Regions from separate parts of the Homo sapiens genome. Here all the other regions are linked to region 5. Evidence: promoter capture Hi-C in 16 types of primary human blood cells and fetal thymus (Javierre and others, 2016). All regions are on one chromosome and are shown on one strand. Each heading gives the region's core, a stretch centred on a gene start or on the middle of the fragment in contact. The rest is flanking DNA. Distances are from core to core; before and after follow the strand shown.

Evidence for each region. The method cuts DNA at HindIII sites, captures the fragments that hold promoters and counts their contacts. A CHiCAGO score of 5 or more calls a contact.
Region 1: a fragment that was not itself captured here is called in contact with the fragment with the promoter of ALG2 in region 5 in 7 of 17 cell types (M0 macrophages, M2 macrophages, monocytes and 4 more); the score reaches 11.5 in M0 macrophages.
Region 2: a fragment that was not itself captured here is called in contact with the fragment with the promoter of ALG2 in region 5 in 6 of 17 cell types (monocytes, fetal thymus, naive CD8 T cells and 3 more); the score reaches 10.5 in monocytes.
Region 3: a fragment that was not itself captured here is called in contact with the fragment with the promoter of ALG2 in region 5 in 11 of 17 cell types (M2 macrophages, M0 macrophages, M1 macrophages and 8 more); the score reaches 20.9 in M2 macrophages.
Region 4: a contact is called between a fragment that was not itself captured here and the fragment with the promoter of ALG2 in region 5, in 1 of 17 cell types (M2 macrophages). The highest score is 6.7, in M2 macrophages.
Region 6: a contact is called between a fragment that was not itself captured here and the fragment with the promoter of ALG2 in region 5, in 3 of 17 cell types (M2 macrophages, total B cells and naive B cells). The highest score is 7.8, in M2 macrophages.
Region 7: a fragment that was not itself captured here is called in contact with the fragment with the promoter of ALG2 in region 5 in 2 of 17 cell types (naive B cells and M2 macrophages); the score reaches 5.6 in naive B cells.

What each region holds. Positions count from the first base shown.
Region 1 is chr9:100,025,706-100,029,493 of GRCh38, forward strand. All of the region lies in intron 4 of ERP44 (endoplasmic reticulum protein 44), which reads right to left. It overlaps LOC105376176 (a long non-coding RNA gene), which reads left to right. Exons shown (of 3, transcript XR_001746547.2): 3 at 267-3,788. Among named protein-coding and RNA genes, the nearest start is that of ERP44, 71 kb to the right of the region's middle. The HindIII fragment of the contact is 643 bases long and covers 1,753-2,395 here.
Region 2 is chr9:100,090,354-100,093,712 of GRCh38, forward strand. All of the region lies in intron 1 of ERP44 (endoplasmic reticulum protein 44), which reads right to left. Among named protein-coding and RNA genes, the nearest start is that of ERP44, 7.0 kb to the right of the region's middle. The HindIII fragment of the contact is 3,551 bases long and covers 1-3,359 here.
Region 3 is chr9:100,005,714-100,009,412 of GRCh38, forward strand. ERP44 (endoplasmic reticulum protein 44) reads right to left here. Exons shown (of 12, transcript NM_015051.3): 9 at 1,865-1,976; 10 at 793-934. Among named protein-coding and RNA genes, the nearest start is that of ERP44, 91 kb to the right of the region's middle. The HindIII fragment of the contact is 2,204 bases long and covers 287-2,490 here.
Region 4 is chr9:100,123,174-100,126,669 of GRCh38, forward strand. INVS (inversin) reads left to right here. Exons shown (of 17, transcript NM_014425.5): 3 at 3,210-3,376. Among named protein-coding and RNA genes, the nearest start is that of INVS, 26 kb to the left of the region's middle. The HindIII fragment of the contact is 5,558 bases long and covers 1-3,496 here.
Region 5 is chr9:99,219,887-99,223,274 of GRCh38, forward strand. It overlaps ALG2 (ALG2 alpha-1,3/1,6-mannosyltransferase), which reads right to left and starts at 2,056. Exons shown (of 2, transcript NM_033087.4): 1 at 1,661-2,056. The coding sequence starts at 2,008. SEC61B (SEC61 translocon subunit beta) reads left to right here and starts at 2,396. Exons shown (of 4, transcript NM_006808.3): 1 at 2,396-2,480; 2 at 2,660-2,757. The coding sequence starts at 2,478. RefSeq lists an enhancer at 2,146-2,465. The HindIII fragment of the contact is 2,183 bases long and covers 1,103-3,285 here.
Region 6 is chr9:100,052,395-100,055,878 of GRCh38, forward strand. It overlaps ERP44 (endoplasmic reticulum protein 44), which reads right to left. Exons shown (of 12, transcript NM_015051.3): 4 at 23-138. Among named protein-coding and RNA genes, the nearest start is that of ERP44, 45 kb to the right of the region's middle. The HindIII fragment of the contact is 2,542 bases long and covers 96-2,637 here.
Region 7 is chr9:100,070,704-100,074,120 of GRCh38, forward strand. The region is part of intron 1 of ERP44 (endoplasmic reticulum protein 44); the gene reads right to left. Among named protein-coding and RNA genes, the nearest start is that of ERP44, 27 kb to the right of the region's middle. The HindIII fragment of the contact is 1,026 bases long and covers 1,465-2,490 here.

The sequences.
Region 1 (3,788 bases), core at 824-3,323, 810 kb after region 5:
TTTCATGCTGAGATCAAAAAAGAAAAAAGATGCCTGCTATCACTTCTATATAATACTGATTTGGAGTTCTTGGTCAAAATAATAATAATAATAAAAGACTGTAAAGGAAGAAATGTCATTACTTGCAGGTGTTTTTATTGAGTTCACAGAAAATCCAAAAGGGAATCTACAAATGGATTTCCATTTTCAAGCAGGGTGTAGTGGGAAGCAAAAATGTGTTGGTCCTACTGCAACAACTAGAAAAAACTTTGTATCATATTTTTAAGATACCAGAAATCATGAAAACAATGAAGACTAAAGGAACTGACATTCCAGGAAAGGAAGAACCATTCCTAAGGTAAGCAAAGATCACTAGCCATTTTCTTTCTTATAGGTTTCCTGTGTAATTTGTTTTGGAAATTAAGCCTGCAGTTGCAGATTTAGGGCTGAGAATTATACCTGCATAGGCAAGAGAAATGTCTCCAGAGGACATCTGCTGAGTGCTGGGGTGATATACAAACCTGGGGAGTTGGGTCACAAAGACGAAAAATCTCCTATGGCCTCCTGGTACTTAGGAGACAACGTCTACTTTGGAAAGGACCTGCAACCCTGTATCAAGACCACATGCAGCCAAGACATTTGCCAGATTTTGAAGCCACAAAGATTAGGAAGCATCTAGACATTAAAAGAAAAACACGAATTTTTAAGACAGACAGGAAGAAAGGTACTTGTGACATGTACTAGAGACAACTGATTAATATTCAGAATATAAAAAGAATGAACTAAAAAAAGACTACCAAAAAGATAAGTGAGTTAAAGCTATCAGTTTATGAAAGAAACACAGATTGCCAATAAACTATTACATATGTTCAGTTGTAATCAGAAAGTTACAAATTAAAACTCCCAGATAACATTTTGTCTTTCATACTGGCAAAAAATCAGTAATAATAAAAATGTTTTAAACTAAAATTCAATAATATGAAACCCTGTGAAAGTAAAATATTCCTAGTAGGTTTCATTTAGGTCCAATATTCAATGTTAATAAAGGTAAACTAGCCTAGCTGGTGCCTACTTTGTCAACAAGAAGTCAAGTAATCTTTTTTAATACCCTAAGACTTTTTAATACCCAAAGGATCTGGCAGAGAGGATATGAGATGGACTCAGAAGCAAAGAAACTAGTCTAATACAAAACATATATTTTCCACCTGTGTCCTAAGTATCAGTATGAAAATGGACAGCAAGATGCACTATAGGAGACAATATAATGCTTTCAACTTTCTAAACTTGATGAATTAGGGGGCGCAATGAGAAAGTAGTGTGCTAACAGCAAGTATGCATAAACCAGGAGTAGAATAAATAAGGTTAGAGACGGACTCTAGAGGGTCTTAAGCACTAAGCTGATGGAGTTTGAATTTTATCCAGTGTTGTGATAAGCAGCCACTGAGCTGTAGAGCTGGGCTTTCAAAAAATTCACCTGGAAGTAGTAGAGAACCAGGGAGACTAGTACTGTAATAGTTGTGGCAAAAATCACAAGAGTCTATTAACAAACATTACAATCTTTAGGTTGCTTTAAAATTCTGGTTACAGAGAGAAAAAGATTTAAAATATTTGAAAACTATTATGGGATTAGATATTCATTTGCTTCATTCTCAAACAACATCCTGGCAGCAGGTATGCTGCATAATGCAGTGGCGTTTAATTATTAAGAAGCAAAAACCTTAAAATTACATTGATCAGTAATCTCAGACATAATGCTTTTTTTTTTATTTTACAAGCTTTGGCCAAAAGTGATTTTAAGATAATTAGAATGTGACACTTTGACAATATAACAAAAAATGACTTAAGGGGTATAATAAATGGGTTTTTAAAATTAACTGGATAGATCAAATGTTAAAATGGATGTCAGAGGAATTATAAATCCCAGAAGGTTAACAGCTCACTGATTGGAAAATTAGCATATATTTTTGCTCCAATGGTCACTTACTTTTCCTTGATGGGTCCTGCCTGCCTGCCTCACTAATACCCAGCAGGGTTCCAAATGGGGAAATTGCCTCATACTCGTTTCAGCAACGTCTCTCCCTGCAATGGTTATCCATGGCAGAAAATACAAAGAGGCAGATCATTTCAACAGGAAAGTCTTATTGTTCTTCTGGTTCCAGGAGAAGGACCACTGCTGCCTATGTACTTCTTCCCATTCCCAAACTGCACCCCTCAAAACAAACAAAAAAACCCCAAAAAGACAAACATCCCCAAAAAACAAAACAAAATACCTCAACAGAAAACTAATAAGCAAAGCCTAGAAGTTCACTCAGAACTCAGGCTTAACTGCTCATCCAAATTCTGTTCTATGCACATAAAGTCTTCACTTCATATTTTCTTGTTCTTACTATGATATTTATATATAGTTCCTATAAAAAGCTTCTCAATTTCCAATAAGTAAGGTTCGAGTTGCACTGGAAGACAGGTAAGAGTAACTCAGGTATATGGGTGCATGTGCTACCTAATCAAGGACAATTACAAAGTACTTTCCTAAAAACACAAGTGTGGGTCTGTTCTGCACTGACCAGCAAGCATATGAATGCCTCTTGCTTAGTGCCATACAGCCTAAGGCCACTGGAGGTCAGCAGAGAACCTGGTCCCACCAGGGGCTGACTGATGGGACTTTCTAGATTCAAGGCAGCAAGCATGACCACCAAGGAGAATAATGAATTACGCTCCTGAATTCCCCAAATGATAAGACTGCAGAAGATAAGATGTGAAGCAAGTTGAAGCAAGGCCATGTTTTAATTGTGTGCATATGTACATGCATGTGTACATGTGTGTCTATGTGTGTTTCGAAATTTTGGAAAGCAGACAGTTACAAAGAAGAAAACAAGAACCACTTCCAACCACCACTGGAGAAAACCACTATTAACATTTTGGCTTATATTTTGGTAACTTTGAAGAAAAGTTGCTTAACTAGCAGAGATATATTTCAATTCAGAAAAAATAAACTCTGAGGTTAGTCAAATAGTAAAGTGATAGCATCAATACTTGCAGAATGGGTTTTAGCAGCTTGGAAGAAATTCCTAGAGAGAGTAGAGCATTACCAATACTCTTAATGGCATGGAGGCCAATACTGTGTAAAAAAACAAAAACAAAAACAAAAAACTCGACTCAGTTGAGAAATGATGCACAAGAGTCAGACTCTAGTTTCAGAATAACTTGAACAAATTTATTTTCCTTTTAAGGCACACACAATAATGACAGAATTTTTAAAATCTATTTCTGAGTCTAAAATAGTTTTCACAATAGGTATAAAAAAATTCTAAGTGTCCCTATCTCTCACCATAAACAAAAATCAACTCAAGATGGATTAAAGACATAAATCTAAGACCCGAAACTATAAAACCAGTAGAAGAAAACATAGGGGAAATGCTTTAGCACATTGGTCTGTGCAAAGATTTTTATGGATACTGCTTTAAATGCACAGGCAAAAAAAAAAGCAAAAATAGACAAATGGGATTTTATCAAACTAAAAAGCTTCTGTAGGGCAAGGGAAACACTCAACAGAGTGAAGAGGCAACCTGAGAATTAGTGGAAATATCTGTAAACTAATCATCTGATAAGGGATTAACATCCAGAATATACAAGCAACAACAACGACAACAAAATCCTATTTTAAAAAGGACATGGCATCTCAACAAACATTTCTCAAAAGACATACAAATGGCCAAAAAGCATGTGAAAAAAAATTGTCAGTTTCACTAATCATGTGGTTACATACAAATCGAAACCACAATGAGATATCATTTCACCCCAGTTAGAAT
Region 2 (3,359 bases), core at 404-2,903, 870 kb after region 5:
TTACACTTGCAGCTGTTCTATAAGCAAAGAGATAGACTTCAATGATGTGTTGGTAATTTTTAAAAGCTGGCATTTCCCCCTACATTATTTAAAACTTCAAATACAACAAAACAGGCCTGGCACAGTGGCTCACGGCTGTAATCCTAACACTTTGGGAGGCTGAGGTAGGTGGATCACCTGAGGTCAGGAGTTTGAGACCAGTCTGGCCAACATGGTGAAACCCCGTCTCTACTAAAAACACAAAAATTAGCCGGGCATGGTGGCAGGCACCTGTAATCCCAGCTACCTGGGAGGCTGAGGCAGGAGAATCACTAGAACCCAGGAGGTGGAGGCTGCAGTGAGCCGAGATCACGCCATTGCATTCCAGCCTGGGCAACGGAGTGAGACTCTGTTTCAAAAAAAAAAAAATATACAACAAAACAGCTAAAGAGCAGGCTTGTAAATATGAGTGCGTACTGTCTATAGGACAAGAAATTTTAACTCTAACATTTTATTTTGTAGATGCATTCATAATCTATATTCCTAATGACCTCTTTTTTATTTTTAAAAATTTATTTTTCCCAGAAGGATGTCAAACATGACCTAACAACCTTTTTCTAAAATTTCTTAAATCCATTCACCAAAGGTCCCACTACTAGACTATAATAAGGAAGAAATGGAAAAAGTACTGGTATTCTACTATTCAGCCTATGGTTTTCTTTAGCTCAAATACTACTACAATGTTTTTCTGAGATGGGTTTCTTCTGCTTTTTTGTTGCTTTTCTCTACTATATTAGCAATGTTCGTGTCTACAAATTCAGGTGACTTAAAATTAGAGTCCAATATAATGCTCAAAGTTCTACATAATGATGAAATCTCAGGTTTGTAGGAATTGCAGAGATGAATGTGGTGACCACAATATCACCAAGGATTCCCAAAGCAGTTAGAATTCGATTTCAGTCTTTGCAAGGACAGAACCAAGACCCACAGCATTACAGAAGGGACTTCTCCAAAGTGGCATTTTATTCCTCTCCCCTCTTGAATGGACTAATCTGAAGGCTAGTTAGAACCCACTAAAGATCATGATTTTTATTTTTGCTAAGTTGATAACAAACTGTTTTAATGAAGTTGGCCAAAGGGTTTGCCAGCTTCTTTAGGGCCAATTCTGACATTTGGCCACGTCAGCCAACCAGACAACAAGATTTCTTAAAAATAAAACAATAAAAAACAAGTATTCAATTGATAGAAAAGATTTACTATGTTATTGAGAGGCACTGCCCTTTTTCTTCATTCCATTCAGGACTGAAAATAAGTTGATCCATTTAACTATTCAAGGCAATATTCAAATTCATCTTTTTCCAAGACTACTCTGATTCCTCCACTGAGAAATAATTTGTTTCTTCCAAACATCCATGGCAGTATTTCTCGAACTTTTATGTGCATATGAATCATCTGGGTATAAGTTCTTAAAGTGCAGGTTCTGATTCAGTAGGTCTGAGGTGAGGTGATCTAAAAGGTCTCATATGATGCTGATGCCTGGGCTCACAATCACACTTCTGAGTAGCAGGATCTATAACCCACTTCTACAAACACCTTTGGCATCCATTACTTTCCTTTTGGTAGTCTAATTATTTATATATATATCTTCTCTCCTCATCTGAATTACTAATTTCTTGAAGGCATGATATGCATCTCAATGATCTTTTTCTCCTCCATAGTAGATTGCAAATAGACTTTCAAATGATAGGCAGAAAAGAAAAATAATAACAAAGATACAGATTAAGTTTCTGCAGCCTGGGCCATAGATGAGTTCCTCTCTATGGAATCAAAGTTAGGCTAAAAATCAATAAATGTTGCAAAAACTCAAACTGTTTTTAATCTTCTTGGTTAGAAGAAATAGAGTACAGCAAGAGTCAATATCAGATAAGCTGTGACAAAAGCATGCTAAGCATGCCCCATACACATGTGCAACATGCTGACAAGCTAGCAGATTTTTAAAGGAACTACCCAATCAAATAATAAGTCTATAATCAGTAGGAGCTAAAGGAATACCCTTTTGTAGTCTATCTTGAAAATAAGATAGACTACACAAAGAATCATTGAATCATCAAATCCATGTGCTTACGTTATAGACAAGAAAAACAAGTAATTTAACCAAGGTTATGATGGTTAAGTAAATGGAAGAGTCGGAACTTACATAGATGCCATGACATCTACTTTTGCATTACACTGCCTTTTGAATGGAGACTAATGAAGAGGCAAAAGAATAATACCTTCCACTGTTCATAAACTCTATCTTGTGAGTACATTCATTCTGAATTACTGGAAGAAGAGTAAGCCATTTTTTGAAAAGAAGACACATAACAAGAACCCATAATACAAACATGCACACAAGAAAACAAATTATCAATAAATATGAAAAAAATTCAACTTTGGTTGTAATCAAAGAAATGTAAATTTAAATTGTGATACCATTTTTGGTCTAGTAAATTGGCACAGATTACAAAAACACTCACTACTGATGAGAGTGTGAGGAAGTGGGCATAGTCACACACTGTTAGGAATACACATTGGTACAAATTTTCAGTAGGGCAATTTAGTACAACATATCAGAAATTCTAAATATAAGACACACCATATAACCCAAAAAATATAATTCTAGAAAAGTAACCTGAGAATGTATCTGAACATTTGCAGAGAACATCATTGTATGCATACCTTTTGTACATTTTTTATAACTGTGAAAAACTTGAAATAACCAGTAACCAAAATGTCTTAACAAATAATGAAGTAAGCTACAGTGCATTTAAAGGTTGAGCTTCTATAATGCTATTAAAAATCACAGTATACAGTTTAGAAAAAGTTTTCAATAACTGTAAGCAATTAAACATCTCCAAGGGTTTTTACAAATTTTAACCTATCAGACATATGACTGAATTCACATATGGCTGTATATTCCAGTGCTTCTCAACCCTGTGAGCATCATCACAGAATCAACTAAGGATATAAAGGGTTAAGAACTCTGTGTGGGCTGGGCACAGTGGCTCAGGCCTATAATACCAGAACTTTGGGAGGCCAAAGCGGGTGGATCGCTTGAGCCCAGGAGTTCGAGACCAGCCTGGGCAACATGGCAAAAGCCTATCTCTACTAAAAATACAAAAATTAGCTGGGTGTGGTGGCTTGTGCCTGTAGTCCCAGCTACTTGGGAGGCTAAGGTGGGAGCATCACGTGACCTGGGAGGTTGAGGCTACAGTGAGCCAAGATCAGGCCACTGCACTCCAGCCTGGGCTACACAGCAAGACCCTGTCTGTGGGGGGGGAAAAAAAAAGAACTGTGTGTGTCTGTGTCTATATAGTCTAGAAATAGAAGACCAACAATTC
Region 3 (3,699 bases), core at 139-2,638, 790 kb after region 5:
CACTGAAATATTTAGAACTCAGTGGGGTAATTCATTCTGCCATAGGACTACAAATCATCCTCTGTGTAATTTAATCTTTTGAGATAAAAATGGCATTTAAATGAATTTTCAAAATAAAATGTCTAACTTGAATACCTGTATTGCTTAAACTTTTCGTATAAGAAACATCTACATTTTTAACCACTGTATTTAACACCTCACAAAGCTGATAAAAATTCAGTATCTGTAGTAGCTACAAGGCTTGTACATATATTAATACTATAAATATCTGAGAATTGAGTCAGAAAGCTTACCTATTCTTGGAACAGTTCATAGCTATATGCCATTAGAAACGCCTAGTAATAGCAAGATTCATAAATACTACTAATGTTCTTGCTATGTGAAGTCACGAATGAACAGCAATATTACCAATTTCCTTTACCCTGGCCTAAGGTTATAAGCTATTTTTCTCAATGTGCTTGGTAAAGACCAAACTCAATGAAGAGCTAATTTCTCACAAGACAAAAATTTTCTTTGAGAGATTGATTCCCAAGCATTAATCACTAATCATCCAAGCATTCATTATCAATTCTAATCACTTAATGTTGGTATTTCTACAAGGCTATATCATAATGTTCATAATTATACCACACTCTATAGTGAAAAAAAGCAGCAGTCACCCAAACCTCTCCCATCCAGTTAACAAAGTCTTACTGTTCCAACATAGGATTATTTAAAATATTCAAACAACTATTTTCAGTTCATTTTTGAAAAACATATCAGTAATTTTTAAAAAACAAAATGAATACTCACAATACATCTTTGAAGTCTCCAAACACATACATATGCCTAAAGCTGTCAATAGCGATTACAGGACAATCTGCTGGAGTTTTCTGTATGTGCAGAAGAGGATGTCTAAATTTGTCACAATCGGCATGTAAAAAGTTTATTGTACCTTTAAGAAAAAAGAATTTTGAGAGGTAAATTCAAATTTTCTTGAAAATATTTTTGTAAGATTGCAAGCTCACAAAAAGTGACATACTAAAAAAAAAGCACCCAACATTCTTAAGAGTAATATAGATCAGAAAAACTAAAACCTAAATATCTAACACTTAAAATAGGTAGGCTTTTAGTTCTTAGGGCACAGAGTATAACTTCTTTAGAAATCATATTGACTTAGTGCAAATTTGAAGGCTATAATGAATTTTTTACTTTCCTTAAATGGGCAATCATTTACTTTGCAGATTATCAGGTTCTAGGCAGGAAGTTCAAGTTGATATATGAGCCATTCTCATGGGACCATTTTCATTCCAGCCTATTCCAGTCATACTGGTTGATTTTTAGTCGAATTCAACCTGCAAGATAGTATGTGACTAAAATGGGCAGCTCTATAGAGTACCTTTAGTTTATTTTGTTTGACTTTCTTCCCTAACTACAGAGGAAAAGCTGGTGACACCTCAAATTCCATTAAATGCTTTGGAGAAATCCACAGACAACTACTCAACTTTCTTTCATTTAGAAATAAATGTTAATCAGACTGTGTAAGCTCTCTCAGCAACATCTCTGGGAATGTCCATTGGAAAAGGGGTCACACAAGCAATGAAGGCAAGTGCCCAGAACTAATGCTCATTCATGACCCTGCTTTTCATGCACTTTGATTTTTCTCTCCAAAATAGTAATGGTTAGAAAACAAACAAACAAAAAAACACTACCTCATATTATCTCTCTACTAATGCCTCCTTACCATCACATTTGAATGTGTTAAAATAAGTTTTTAACCCAAATATGTTTATGTGATTTGACAGAAATGGGAGAGGAGATGATGAAAGGGAAAAAAAGAAAAGAGAGAAAGAAATGATGAAAATAAACACCTTAATCTGTCTACCTTTTTCACTTATTAATTGCCGAGCTACTTCATTCTGGAATATTTCTAAACTTTCTGTATCTTCTTTCATGTGAAAGAGTATGAGAAAAGGCAGTCCTTCTTCTGTCAATTCCTGTAGAGAGAAGCATTCAATGAGAATTATCAGGCTTCTCCATTCAGTTGTAGCTATTTTCTAGGTAGGAACAATTTTGAACCCAACCCATGTAATGCAATAGTTGCAATATCCCGGGGGAAAAAAAAGGCCCAGTGGTGTGAATAAACATTAGCCTGAACAGAAGACTGAATTCACTCCCCTCCCCACCTCAAGTACCCAGACAGTCAGAGGACCCACATGCCCTGCTTTGCTGCAGAAACTGATCTGCCCCCACTGTCTGTTAGCCAGTATGGGATATGAGACTTCAGGGTTAGGCTGTTGAATTCATGACATATAGAGGTGAACTATGCTGGTTCTTTACCAAGGTGTTAATTTTAGAGTGGGGTAAACATGACTAGTATTTTCAGTCTTCACAAGTAACAGTGAAAAACAGTATATCAGCAATAAATAAATCTGATTTGCAAAATTTTTTGTATTTTTTTATATTCTAAGGTTGCAAAAACCATTACACTTACATATAAAACTTACCCAAAGCTTGAAGTGTTTTATCCAGGGTAAAAAACAAAACCTCCATTATTTAACTAATTCTCAACCAATATACAATTAACATTATTAATAAATACCTACCCCTATATATTTTTATATACCTCTTTATTTATACACACAGAAAAGCACCTTGAAAATTATAAAGTGCTATTAAAATTTTTATTGTTGTAATTGGAGAATACTACAATGGGTAGACATGATTAAATAAAATGTGATATGTAGACAGATTTAATCATTTATTCTCCCCAACAAATGCTAAGTTCTGACTCATCAGAAAAAGTCCAGAAAGGGTCTCATAACAAAATTATTTTCATCAACTATCCTTTTGAGGATCTCTCCATAAATCTAGGAACTACCTCACCAGAAAGTACAAATGTCCTTTATTTTTTAAAAAACAAACTGGGACCTATTTTACAGGATTAAAAGTTTTCTTCTGGCTCTCATCTCCATATTTAAGCCTATTTCACTTGTATATAAGATCAATTATTAAGCCTCTTGTTACATTTATTTTTTTAAAAAACTGAGATACAATTAGCATACCATAAATTTCACCATTGTTTTTTTGGAGACAGGGTCTCACTGTGTCGCCCAGGCTGGAGTACAGCCTCGACCTCCCCAGGCTCAGGTGATCCTCTCACCTCAGCCTCCCAAATAGTGAGGACTACAAACATGCATGACCATGCCCAGCTCATTTTTGTTATTTTTTGTAGAGATGGGATTTCGCCATGTTGCTCAGGTTGGTCCCAAACTCCTGGGCTCAAGCAATCTGCCTGCCTCAGCCTCCCAAAGTGCTGGAATTACAGGTATGAGGCAACACACCCAGCCCATCATTTTTAAGTGTACAATTTTGTGGTTTTAATTATATTCACAAGGTTGTGCAAACATCACCACTAATTCTAGAGCTTTTTTTTTGAGACGGAGTCTCACTCTGTAGCCCAAGCTGGAGTGCACTAGTGCAATCTTGGCTCACTGGAACCTCTGCCTCCCGTGTTCAAACGATTCTCCTGTCTCAGCCTCCTGAGTAGCTGGGACAACAAGTGCACATCACCATGCCCAGCTAATTTTTTTGTATATTTAGTGGAGATGGGGTTTCACCATGTTGGCCAGGATGGTCTCAATCTCCTGACCTCATGATCCATCCCCCTCGGCCTCCCAAAGTGCTGGGATTACAGGCATGAGCCACTGCGCCCAGCCC
Region 4 (3,496 bases), core at 213-2,712, 900 kb after region 5:
TGGACAAACGTCACCACAAATGATATTAGAACACTTTCATTATCCCACAGAGAAACCCTTCACCCTTTGGCTGTTACTCTTCAAATTTGTGCCCAACCCCCAGTCCTAGGCAACTACTCATCTACTTTCTGTCTCTATAGATATGCCAGTGCCAGATATTTCACATAAATATAATTATATAATATGTGGTATTTTTTGACTGGCTTCTTTTGCTTAGCATAATGTTTTCAAGGTTCATCCATGTTGAGCATATACTAGACCTTCATTCCTTTTGCTGAGTAATATTCCACTGTAGAGCTATACAACATTTTGTTTAACCATTCGTCAGTTGATGAATAGCTTATGGATACTTGCATTATTTCCACCTTTTGGCTCTCATGAATAATACTGCAATGGATATTTGTGTACCAGTTTTTGTGTGGACATATGTCTTCGTTTCTCTTGGGTACATACTTGGGATTGGAATTGCTGGGTCAAATGGTTACTTAATGTTTTGAGGAACTTCCAGAATATTTTCCAAAGTGACTCTACCATTTTAGATTCCCACCAGTAGTATATGAGGATTTTGATTTCTCCATATTCTCATTAATACTTGTTATTATGTATATTTTTTATTATAACCATCCTAGTGTATGTGAAGTGGTATCTTATATTGTGGTTTTTGTTCTGTTACCCAGGCTGGAGTGCAGTGGTGCAATCTCAGCTCACTGCAACCTCCACCTCCTGGGTTTAAGTGATTCTCATGCCTCAGCCTCCCAAGTAGCTGGTATTACAGGCATGTGCCACCACCACACCCGGCTAATTTTTGTATTTTTAGTAGAGACGGGTTTTTGCCATGTTGGCCAGGCTGGTCTTGAACTCTAGGCCTCAAGTGATCCGCCCACCTCAGCCTCCCAAAATGTTGGGATTATAGGCGTGAGCCACCCTGCTGGGTCTATGTTGTGTTTTTAAATAAATCTCTTTGTATAGTTTGTTTTCATTGGAGGTTTTTTATTTGTTTCTGAGTGTGTGTGTGTGTGTGTGTGTGTGTGTGTGTGTGTGTATGATTGTTCTAGGTATTAGAATATGTATACTTATTTTATCACAGTCTGTATTTTCCACTTTGAGTACAACATAGAAGCCTTATCACTAATTAGGTCCCTTTACCCTTCTTTTTGATATAGTTATCTTAAAAATCACCTCTACATAAACTGAGAACCACATCATACAGCAAGGTTATCTTTGCTTTCAATCATCGAAACATAACTCTAAAAATTAAAGAGGATAAGCCAGGCATGCACTGTAGCCCCAGCTACTCAGGAGGCTGAGGCAGGGAGGATTGCTTTAGCCCAGGAGTTCAAGACCAGCCTGGGCAACACAGTGAGACCCTCATTAAAAAAAAAAAAAAAACTAAAGAGGTTAAAAACAGTCTATTATGTTTCTCACATATTTACATTCTGCTTCTCTTTTTTCATTCCTGATGTTCTATTTGTTTCATGAGTGTTCATAGTTGGTTGTTGGAGCACTTTTTTGAGAGTTGTTTTAAAATTCTTGTCATATAATTCTAATATATCTGTGTCATCACAGTGTCAGTGCCTGTTGATTATCTTTTCTTGTTTAAATTAATATTTTCCAAACTTTTGAGTTGTTTCATAATTTTGGATTATATCTTTGACATTTTCTGTATTATGAGACTCTGGATCCTATTTAAATATCTTACTTTAGTAAACGGACAATCTGTCAAGGTTTAGAATGAACATTCTCTTTCAATTTTGTGGTTCAAATTTCAAGTTAGTTTTCAGAGATCTTGCAGGGCTCTTCTGGTTTGCCCCACCTCTGGGCTGCTCAGGCCCATTTAGAACCAAGGCAATGATCTAACTATAGTTCAATTCTCAGAGCTTTTGCTATCTTGATTCTGACCAGTTTCACACATGGGCTGCTCAAAAGTGTCCTGACTTTTTGTACCAATTTAAAGAATTACTTCCTCCAACTTTGTCCTCTCCATATTCCTATCTCCTACTCTCTAATTGGAAAGGGGTAAAATACTACCTCATTGCTATCCTTTGCTTAATTCGGGGCATTGATAGTTTGACAGGGCTCCTCCCAACGGTCTCTATAGTGTCCAGTGGGGAAAAGAGGTGCAGTTTCTTTTATTGTATGTGTTTTGAGTAGAGCATAGTCAAATGGTTCACTCAGCAGAGTTACCTGCCTCCCAGTCTTTTTACTAGAGAGAGTAGACTTCTCTTGAGAACTTTGGCATCTGTGCACCTTGGTGTTTCTGGATTATAGGCTACTGTAGCCCATAATGGGAGGCAAAAGCAAACAAGCAAACAGAAAACGCTTCAGGGAACTTACCACCAGGTTGTCTCTCAAGTTCCAAAGTTCCTAGTCCAAGATGCCTTCCCTTCTCTGCCTGTCATTTATTTTGCCTTTTGCCCTGGGGATTTTAGTTGTAATTAGCAGGAGGATGAGGATGCTATGTACTTGCTCTATCTTGTCATCTTGTCTAGAAAGGGAAATCAACTGTGATTTTTTTTTTTTTTTTTTTTTGAGATGGAGTTTTACTCTCGTTGTCCAGGCTGGAGTGCAATGGCACAATCTTAGTTCACTACAACCTCCGCCTCCTGGGTTTAAGCAATTCTCCTGCCTCAACCTCCCGAGTAGCTGGGATTACAGGCGCCCGCCACCACGCCTGGCTAATTTTTGTATTTTTAGCAGAGACTGGGTTTCACCATGTTGGTCAGGCCGGTCTTGAACTTCTGACCTCAAGTGATCTGCCCACCTTGGCCTCCCAGAGTGCTGGGATTACAGGCGTGAGCCACCGCACCCAGCCTGTAATTCATTTTTGTATCACTCATAAAACATACCACAATGCCTAGTGTACAATTGGCATTAATTAAATATTTGTTTCAAAAGACAAGAGTGAGTGAGGGAGGAACATAAGTAGCTCTGTATCTCAAAATGTTAGTTCAGCATAATATGATTGAGTCATCAGTTTAAATTCTAGCCCCACCTACTTTCAGTGTGAACATAGACTGGTTACTTAACTTATTTGAGCCTCAGTTTCCTATAATATGACAATGGTAATATCTACTTCTTAGGACAAGTAAAAATAAGATGATATACTTAAGCATTTAGCACAATGTTTGATAATAAACAGCGAATATAGTTCCTACTTATATTAGTAATAACAATTATCAAATATCACTATCTGTTTCTTATCCTTATAGGAAACTCTGCTCTTAAAGACAAAGAAGATCAGTTTGGGAGAACACCACTTATGTATTGCGTGTTGGCTGACAGATTGGATTGTGCAGATGCTCTTCTGAAGGCAGGAGCAGATGTGAATAAAACTGACCATAGCCAGAGAACAGCCCTCCATCTTGCAGCCCAGAAGGTGAGAAGTAAAATTTCCTTGAAGAGTAAATGTTTTGTGTGATGTCTGCTAGTTGATTAGTGGAACTATGCAATGGACAGATAATAAAGAAGTCTCAAATGCATGACTCATAGGTTTTAT
Region 5 (3,388 bases), core at 806-3,305:
AAATGTCCACGTTACTTAAAAAGAAAGCTTCCATGCAAGCAAGGATGATCAAAAGTAACTCAGGAGTCATAATTAAAGAAACACAAATACAAATGTGATGCCATCTGCACCTATCAGTTTGGCAAAGTTTAAAATGGTTAATATCCAAGGCGGACAAAAGCATGGAGTAAGAGGCTCTATCATACATTGTGGGGGAGTAAAGTGACACAGCCTCCTTGGTAGGCAAACTTGGCAGTAGCTATTGATATTTAAAATGAACAACTCTTAGACCCACCAACTTTAGGAATTTCCTCAAACGACATATTTGCAGAAGTACAAAAATATTTTAAAAAAAAGAAGTAAAAGGATGTTCATTACAACACTGATCTATTCACAAAAAACTAGTCACAACATTAGTGTCCTTTAAGGAGAATGTTTAATTATGACACACTTAAACAAAAGTGGATTTTCTGGCCACTATGAAGAATGAAGTGAATCTCTAATATTGATACATAAGAATGTCCCGGCTGGGCGCAGTGGCTCATGCCTGTAATCCCAGCACTTTGGGAGGCCGAGGTGGGCGGATCGCGAGGTCAGGAGTTCGAGACCAGCCTGGCCAACATGGTGAAACCCCATCTCTACTAAAAATAGAAAAAATTAGCCGGGCGTGGGGCGCGCACCTGTACTCCCAGCTACTCTGGAGGCGGAGGTTGCAGTGAGCCGAGATCGCGCCACTGCACTCCAGCCTGGGAGACAGAGCAAGACTCCGTTTCAAAATAAATAAATAAATAAATAAATTTTTGCTGAAAAAGATGCCTAATAGTAGGTATGTCATAATACCAATTATGTACCAATAAGAAGATATAGATATACCTATGAAAAGACACAGGCTGGTGTCACCACAACTTCTGAAAAAATACAAGAGAAACTTAACGGTGGCTATCTTCAGGGAGTAGAATAGGACGGGGCTTTTAGGTTACATCCTTCTATACTACTAAATTTTTAATCGAGTAAATGTTACTTTTTAAAGTCATCTTTTTTAGGATGGGGAAAAATGCACGAAGGAAAGAGTCAAGAATAGCTACAGGGCAGATCCAGGTGGACATTATTTACCAAGGTAAAAAGCTTGAACTTTTCTCCAAAAACCAATGGGGAGCCATGTACAAGTTTTAATAGGGGCATGATATATTCAGCTTGGCGTTTTTAACACATGACACTGCTGAGGACGGTGTGGCCTGGCTCCGAACACAAGGACAGTGGGATGCAAATGGCCTGAAAGGAGAGTCAACAAAAATAACAGGTAAGCGGGAAGACAACACGCGAGTTACTCATTAGTAAAAGGTGACTGAAGCTGACTTCTAATACCAGCGTTTCTCAGAGCCCCAAAGACTATCTACCTCGGAATCACCCTATGACCCAGTTAAAATGCAGATGTCTGGGCCCCACCTCAGGGCACCTGGATGAAAACTTCCTGGAGGATGGAACCCCAGCAATCTGCAACTTTAAATGGGCCCACACTAAAGTTAGAGAACCACAGGCTCGCTCACAACCCTGACTTCTCCATGTCAGTTCCGATCTTTGCGAACCGCAGACAGGGAAGGTCTTCTCTCAGGGGTCATGCCCGCGGCCGCCCTCCACGGCGAGGTCCGCACTCGCGCAGCCGGCCCCGCGGCCGCCTCACCTGGTCGCACACTACCACGTCGAACTCCTCGTCGGCGAGGAACAGCACGTAGAGCGCCAGGAAAACCATGCGCACGTAGGCGCAGACGGCGGCGCCGCGGCCGCCCCAGCCCAGGCCTCGCGGCAGCCAGTCCCCGGCACAGCGCACCGGTAGCTCGCGGCTCTCGGCGAAACAGTGGCCCGGGTCGTAGTGCGCTGTCCAGATCTTCACGCTACACCCGCGCGCCTGCAGCGCCAGCGCCGCGTCCAACACCAGCCGCTCAGCGCCGCCCACGCCCAGGTCTGGGTGGAGGAACAGCACCGACGGCTTGGGAACCGAGTCCCGTTCCCGGCCCTGCTCCTCCGCCATGGCCCTGGAGCCGCAACTGCACCCCGCACCCTGATGGGGGTCTTCTGCGCAAGCTCCGCGCTCGTAGCTCCCAGCTGGCCACTGCGGGCCGACCCCGCCCTGCCGTACGTGCGTCAGTTAGGCCACATCAGCGCAAATCTGTGAGGGTCTAGTAACTGCCTGAGAAAATATCTTGTCTGACCCCGGTTATATTTTTCCTTCGGTAGGGATTGGACTTTCTGAAGGACGTTGTGATCCAAAGGAAGGAGGCCGGAGGTCTCTACTTCCCATACAGCAGGTAACTAAGTTGTCTGTAGCAGACTGTCTACAGGCATATCGTGAGACGACCCAGGCGTCCCTGGGGTCAGAGAGGACCTTGCCTGCAAGTCCGGGGGCGGGGCCTGAGTCAGTCTCGCCAGCTGCCGGTCTTTCGGGGGCTCCGTAACTTTCTATCCGTCCGCGTCAGCGCCTTGCCACCCTCATCTCCAATATGGTATGGCGGCCCTTCCATGATCCCCGCCTCTCCCAGAAGCCCTGACTCCTCCTGCTTTGCGCCGTGCTTTTCCTCTGTAGCTCCCTTGCTTCCCCCAGCCTCGGGTGTGGGTGTCTAGGCCGGGGTTCTGGGGCAGGCCTGCCGCGCTCACCCGTCTGTCTGCTTGTCTCCCTCTACAGCCTGGTCCGACCCCCAGTGGCACTAACGTGGGATCCTCAGGGCGCTCTCCCAGCAAAGCAGTGGCCGCCCGGGCGGCGGGATCCACTGTCCGGCAGAGGTAAGGAACCCTGCAGTTCGTTCGCTTCCAGACTCGGAGATAGGACCCAGAACCTCGCTGATTCTGGGGTGGAGACCCTAGCATGTGAAGATTGACAAAGGCAAAATGAGCTTCTAGTGACGTGGCCGTGGGAGTAGTTAAAGGCCTTTTGGGAGGAAGGCGACATTTTTTTTCTCGTTGCTCAGTTTAGGGCACTACTCTTAAAAAAGGAAAGTTAACAAACTGGAATAGAGTCAGAGATAACTTTGAGAAAACCGATGTCATTAAACTGGTGTCTCTGGACCTGAGGTTTGCACTCACATTTCCATCTGGCGGCCCCATAAGCAATCTGTCCTACAGATAACTCGTCCTACACAAAACTTAGTCTCTTTTCAGCTCAGCTCTCTCACTCTCAATTATATCTCCTTACTTCCATATGGCACTGTTGTACACTCATTTACTCAGAGCCAGAAACGTCAGCGTCATCTTGGATTTTTCTTATGCTCTTTCTCTCTCTAGTCATATGCCAGACTTTAAACTCTGCTTGAAAGCTTTCTCATAAGCTCTTTCCTTTTCCCTTTCTACTGCTTTGCATTTGCTACTTAACCCTTTTCTTCAGGCTGTTTGCTTTCCAGTCCATCGTTCGCTCTGC
Region 6 (3,484 bases), core at 117-2,616, 830 kb after region 5:
GACTTCCTATTGAGGTACTTACAGTGCTGATCACAATCAACTCTGGCAAACACTACTTGATTTTCATTTGGAAATTCTTCCTTAATGACATCGGAAGCTTCCTCAAAAATTGGATGCAACATCTGACTGAAACGACACCTATACACAGAGAAGGATGCCAATTAGAAATGAAAAGCAGAAGTAATAAAATCTTATTTCCGTTATTGCCCACTGACATTTGATATAGGCATAATAAACGACTCTGCGAGATAATCACACACTTAATTTAATCATGGACCCTGACATCGTTCAATGGAGATGAAGACAATTTTAAGTTCAAAGACTGTATACCAATTCTAAGAATGTATAATAGATTTTGGTTTTATTCATCTTAAGACAATTGCCAGTATTATGGAGCACACAGCTAAGGATCTCTTGCAGAGGTCATAAAACAAGTCTGAAATAAGCCCTCTACAAAGTACTGTTAGGATTTGTAACTACTGAGGCTTGAACATTTATGAAAAATTAGCTTTCTCTATTTTATTTATTTTTAATTTTTTTTGAGACAGGGTCTCATTCTGTTGCCCAAGTTGGAGGGCAGGGGCACAATCTGAGCTCACTGCACCCTCCACCTCCAGGGCTCAAGCAATCCTCCCACCTCAAAATAATAAAATTTTAGACTATTGTGTAAAATATTTTAACTGTATTGCAAATATTAGACCTCTCCACCTGGCTAGTTCTATCAAATCTCACAGGCAAGTTAACACACTAAATAAATAAGTTATATTAAAAGAATATATGGTATATAATTAACTATTTCCCCTCAAAATTTACCCCTTGATAAAATGGGCTTTTATATCTGTAAACATACTAAATACAGTAAGTCCAGAAGCAAATATCTTAAATTCCTAACCAAGACTTCCTGTCTATATTTTCTTTTTTCTTTTACTTTAAACACAAGGCACAAACCCCCACAATATTCTACAAACTTGTTACTTCTAACTGTCCCTTAATCAAGCCAAACATTTCACAAATACAGTCATGTGGTGTTTAACGACAGGGATACACTCAGAAATACACCATTAGGCGATTTCTTCATTACGTGAACATCATAAAGTATACTTACACAAACCTAGATGGTATAGCCTAGCATGCACCTACACTATAGGGTATACAGCCTCCTACTGCTCCTAGGCTACAAACCTGTACCACATGTTAATATACTAAATACTGTAGGCAACTGTAACACAATAGCAGGTATCTAAACACAGAAAAGTTACAGTAAAAATACGGTATTATATATGGGACTTCTGTCATTGACCTAAACATCATGTCATGGATGACTATGTTCTAGGTAATTAAAGGGACCCAATAAGAAGGGGAAGAATCAGAATTAGCAACCAGCTGGGTTAGAATGGCCATTCTCTTACGGAAGAAGTATTAAGAATATGTAAACAAACTACAATTGCTACTGTTGCTTCCAGAGCCCTTTTCCACCAAATTTACTTAAATGATGTCAGTGAACAGTTTAATCCACATGTAATTAGTTCATACATATTAGCTTTAATACAATAAAAATATTGGAAAGCCTGTGAAAGGATGCAAACATTATACTTCCTCCCTATTTCTTCTTGTATATATATATCTCTTCTAGCCCACTCACCTGACTTCCTAAGGAGATGTCCTAGAATATATCAAGGAGACACATCTGTATCTTCAATCTCTTGCTTTCAAGTGGCTCTTTCCTCTTTTAGCATTCTTAAATCTCTCCCATCAGGGATAAGAGGATGGGGTCTGTGGACATCATGGACCGTGTCTTATTTGACTATGTATTCTAATAAACATTCAATATATGTATTAAATCAATAAATTGATAGAATGGAGGAACTGGAGCGGCTAGGACCGCAGGTTTGTGGGTTCTTACAGTTCGCTGAAAATAAGGTAGCTGGAGGGCAAGGGAGGCAAGGAGTAGGGGCTGATTAATGGTTTCTTGAAAAATTTAGATCTGACCTAGTGAAGAAAGAGCGGGCAAGCCTCTTTATGGCTTAAGGGCGACGTAAAAAAACACATCAAGGGCTTCTTTTCTCTAGATTGTCCAGTTTGCCACTCATTAAGTATTTAAGCATGGTTCATGTTTAAAATAGGACCTGTCTTAATACAGGTTGAATGCCCCTAATCTAAAAATTCAAAATGCTTCAAAATCTAAAACTGTTTGAGCACTGACAAGATGCTCAAAGGAAATGCACATTGAAGCATTTTGGATTTCGTATTTTTGGGGTTAGGGATGTTGAACCAGTAAGTATAAGGCAAACATTACCAAATCTGAAAAAATCCAAAAACTGAAACACTTCTGGTCTCAAGTATTTCAGATAAGGGATACTCAACCTGTACCAAAAGACGAAAAGGGAAAATGAAATAAAAGTTCAATTCCATAATTACTGTACCTTCATACATGTGTATCCATACACATGGAAATGTTACATTTATAAAAGGAACATCACAAAAGCAATGGATCTATTAAAAGGGCCTAAGGGTCATCTAAACCTAATCTTCCATCTAGTGCTTAAATCAATCCTTAACAAATCTACCAAATAGATAAGTCTTTGCAGAGACATTTTGAGGGCACTTACTAATATGATCTAGTTAGAGAAAAAAATAAGCTTTGCAGTTAGGCATACCTGAATTTAAATCCCAGTTCCACCACTTACTAGCCATATGACCCTTCTGAGCCTCAATTCCTCAACCTAAAAGGAAATTATAATACCTACCTACAGAGTAGTTCTGAGCATTAAAAAAAACCTATGTAAAGAGTCTGGATGGGGATGGTTAATGAGTACAAAAATATAGTTAGAATGAATAAGATCTAGCAGGATGACTAAACAGAAATGTATTGTACATTTTTAAATAACTAAAAGAGTAAAACTGGAATGTTTGTAACAAAAATGATGAATCCTTGAATTAATGAATACTCCATTTACCCTGATGTGTGTTTTTTTTGTTTGTTTTTGTTTTTGTTTGAGACGGAGTCTCGCTCTGTCACTCAGGCTGGAGTGCAACCGTGTGATCTCAGCTCACCGCAACCTCCGCCTGCTGGCTTCAAGCAATTCTCCTGCCTCAGCCTCCCAAGTAGCTGGGATTACAGGTGCCTGCCACGTCCGGCTAATTTTTTGTATTTTTAGTAAAGACGGGGTTTCACCATGTTCGTCAGGCTAGTCTGGAACTCCTGACCTCAGGTGACCTGCCCGCCTCGGCCTTCCAAAGTGCTGGGATTACAGGCGTGAGCCACTGTGCCCAGCCATGTGATTATCCTACTTTGTACACCTCTATCAAAATATCTCATGTGCCCCATAAATATATATACCTACTATGTTCCCATAAATATTAGGTAATTTTTAAAAAATAGTCTGGCACAAAACAGCATTATTAACCACCTACTACAGTATTACTCAAGGAGCTGCAGTATTTTTAAGCACCTCTATTACAGAATTATTAAACTGTGCCACAT
Region 7 (3,417 bases), core at 728-3,227, 850 kb after region 5:
AATTTAATCAAGCCCAAGAAACTAGTGTATAAGAAACATTGGCTATAGAGGAACATCTTGTAAAATGACACCATGAGGATGCAAGCTGCCATATCGGATGACAGGAAATTTTACAGAAAACAATGATAGCCTATCTTCATTTGGCCTCCCCCCAGAAGTAGACTCTGAGACAAGGAGTTAAGCACAAGGAGTCAAGTATTTGGGAGATAAAGGAGGAACAGAGAAGTGAGACAGGGACAGAAACTCAGAAACTCAGGCAATATACTATAGCAGGTGAGCTATAGTATTGGTATACTAAACTTTGGAAATACCAATGTTTTCACTTGACTTTTACACAATTTTTCAAAGTTTATACTCAACAGATTGTAGTATCTCCTAAATTATATAAGGTTTTTTTTTTTTTTTTTTTGAGACAAGGTCTTGTTCTGTCACCTAGGCTGGAGTGCAGTGGCATGATCTCGGCTCACTGCGACCTCCACCTCCTGGGCTCTAGCAATCCTCCCACCTCAGCCTCCCAAGTAGCTGGGACTACAGGCATGTGCCACCACATCCAGCAAACATATAACATTCTTTAGCCCTTTTACTAGCTGTTGCTATTGGCACACACATTTCTACACTCCAAAGTATGAGGAAAATATCTCCTATGTGTCAAAGAATGCCTTTATTTCATTACTAAACATGTGGCCCTGACTGTTTTTGGGTGAGTAAATGGCCTTTAAGGAAAAACTGTCTTCAGTGAAACCTTGGCTTACTTATTTTCCACAGTCACTTAGTTCCAGAATCACTCTCAGACTTCCTAGTTTCTTATTCTTAAGTAGAGTACTGTACGTATTCTTGGGTAAAAATGTTTTTATTACCAAATCCCCTAATGATTCCATTACTATATATATCCAAAGTATTAATCCACTACTGACTTTAAAGATCTGTATTTTTTGGCCAGGCACAGTAGCTCACGCCTGTAATCCCAGCACTTTGGGAGGCTGAGGCAGGGGGATCACATGAGGTCAGGAGTTTGAGAGCAACCTGGCCAACATGGTGAAACCCTGTCTCTACTAAAAATACAAAAAATTAGCTGGGCGTGGTTGCGGATGCCTGTAATCCCAGCTACTTGGGATGCTGAAGCAGGAGAATCACTTTAACCCGGGAGGTGGAAGTTGCTGTGAGCTGAGATCACGCCATTGCACTCTAGCCTGGGCAACAAGAGTGAAACTCTGTCTCCAGAAAAAAAATAAACCTCTGTGTTTTAAAAATTACATTGTTACTTCTAACCAAATTAATTCTAAATATCAATCAGAAGTAGTCCTTGAGAGGCCATATACTTCTTGAGGTGCCTATCCTAATTAATGATCATTAGAAGAATCTTTAATGCTGTCCCATCTGCCACACATACTGTTTGAATTAGCTTTGTAAAGCAAACAGATTTATCTTTCATTTAGTCTAAAATACTCCCAGTGACAGTCTCAAAGCTTTCTTATATATTAAGGGTCACTAAGGTTGATCTTCATTACTACCACATAGTAGTTCAGCTTTCTAAGCACTTTTACCAAAAAGCTAATCAGAGAATGACCTTGGTGTGTTAAAAGGAAATCTGAATTTAGGAATCTATCTCCTTTGCTCATGTCTGTCCTCACTTTTGTACTTGCTGTGAGATGGAGGTACAGAAAGAAGAAGTAAGCATTGGCACAATTAGGAATATACTGTTTACTTTAATCCTCAAAACCATTTGGGAGGTAGAGAGAAAAGACCAACAAGCAGGGACAAAGGAAGAGAACTCATTTTTCTAAAAAACAGAACTAAAAAACAAAAAAGTTCTCTAACTCTCTCTTTTCTTCTTTTGAGATAGAGTTTTGCTCTTGTTGTCCAAGCTGGAGTGCAATGGAGCGATCTTGGCTCACTGCAACCTTCGCCTCCCTGGTTCAAGCGATTCTCCTGCCTCAGCCTCCTGAGTAGCTGGGATTACAAGTGTGCGCCACCACGTCTGGCTAATTTTTTGTTTTTAGTAGAGACGAGGTTTCACCATGTTGGCCAGGCTGGTCTCAAACTCCTGACCTCAGGTGATCTGCCCACTCTGCCTCTCGAAGTGCTGGGATTACAAAAAGTTCTCTAACTCTCTATCTTCTGGAGTTTTGAGGCAGTCAATCAACCTTAGAGGTAAGAAGGGCAATCTTCCAAGTCCCTGAGTCATCCACAACCTTCAAACGTTGAATCCTTCTGAATTTTAGATTTTTATAACATGTATTAATTAAAATAATGAGGTATAGGATGTCCTTAATTTCCTAATGTTTGAACTTCATGCTGACTCTTCAAAATTGCCCACTGAATATATGCTGCCTTTGGGCTTTAATGAAGCAGTTGACAAACATTTCAAGCAATTTTAAGTGGTGATTTGGATCTGGTAACAGTTCATTTCAGTCAAGAGGCAGATGATTTAAAAATAAGTACCCTGTAACAAACTCAAAACTTCCCAAGTACGGTTTCAAAGAGAGTATAAGCTTACATAATTCAAATTAAGAATTTCACATTCTATAGCCAAAGAGAATTTTAAAAGTAATGCATGATCAAGTTTTTTTTAAAAAAACTAAACAATTGGTCATTGTTTTCTTCTGAATATGAACTCTCATAAAAGCTTGCTTTTATAACTGTTACATAGAATTAGTTGAGATTATGATTAAACTACAATTGACCTTCTGCAGTCTATGAGTTGGGAGTCAAGAGACCTAGGTTTTGGTACCAGCTCTACCACTCACAATGTAACCTTAGGCATGCATTTCTCTACCTCCTGACCTCAGAGTTCTATTTGTCCATAAATAAGCTGAACTAATAATCTAAGGCTGCTTTTGATTCTGATGTTCTAAGATTCAGCAGAGATGTGGAGACGCCTTCTTTCAGTGGAATTTGTCTTCCATTGAAGATAAACATTAAAATCATTACTGGACTAAAAACTGTTTCACAAGAAATCATTCTCACATTTTTGACAAATACACAGCAACAGAAATTTTCAATTACATTCTACATAGGTGAGACTACATATACTAACCTCTAAGAAGTTAATATCCAAATGTGTGTTATCATCTAACAGCAGAGGCTTTTCAAACTTTTTATGACCATGATCCACAGCAAGAAATACACTTTACACTGCAGTCCAGGAAACAGAAACACAAATAAAAGTTTCTCAAAACTACCTATCCTTACTACATTCAATGCACAGTAGTATTTTCTATTCCTATCCTTTTAATTAATGTTGAATGTAAGCCCAATACAACAAATTAATGTATCCCAGTTTGCAGTTCCAAAAATACTGCTCTAAAGACTATTATACACTTATTCAAACAATACTGCTCAAAATATTTTGGAGAGAAAATCTCCTTTGGAAATCCCTTAAAAAGCCATGATCCATGCTTTTCAACACACTCCATC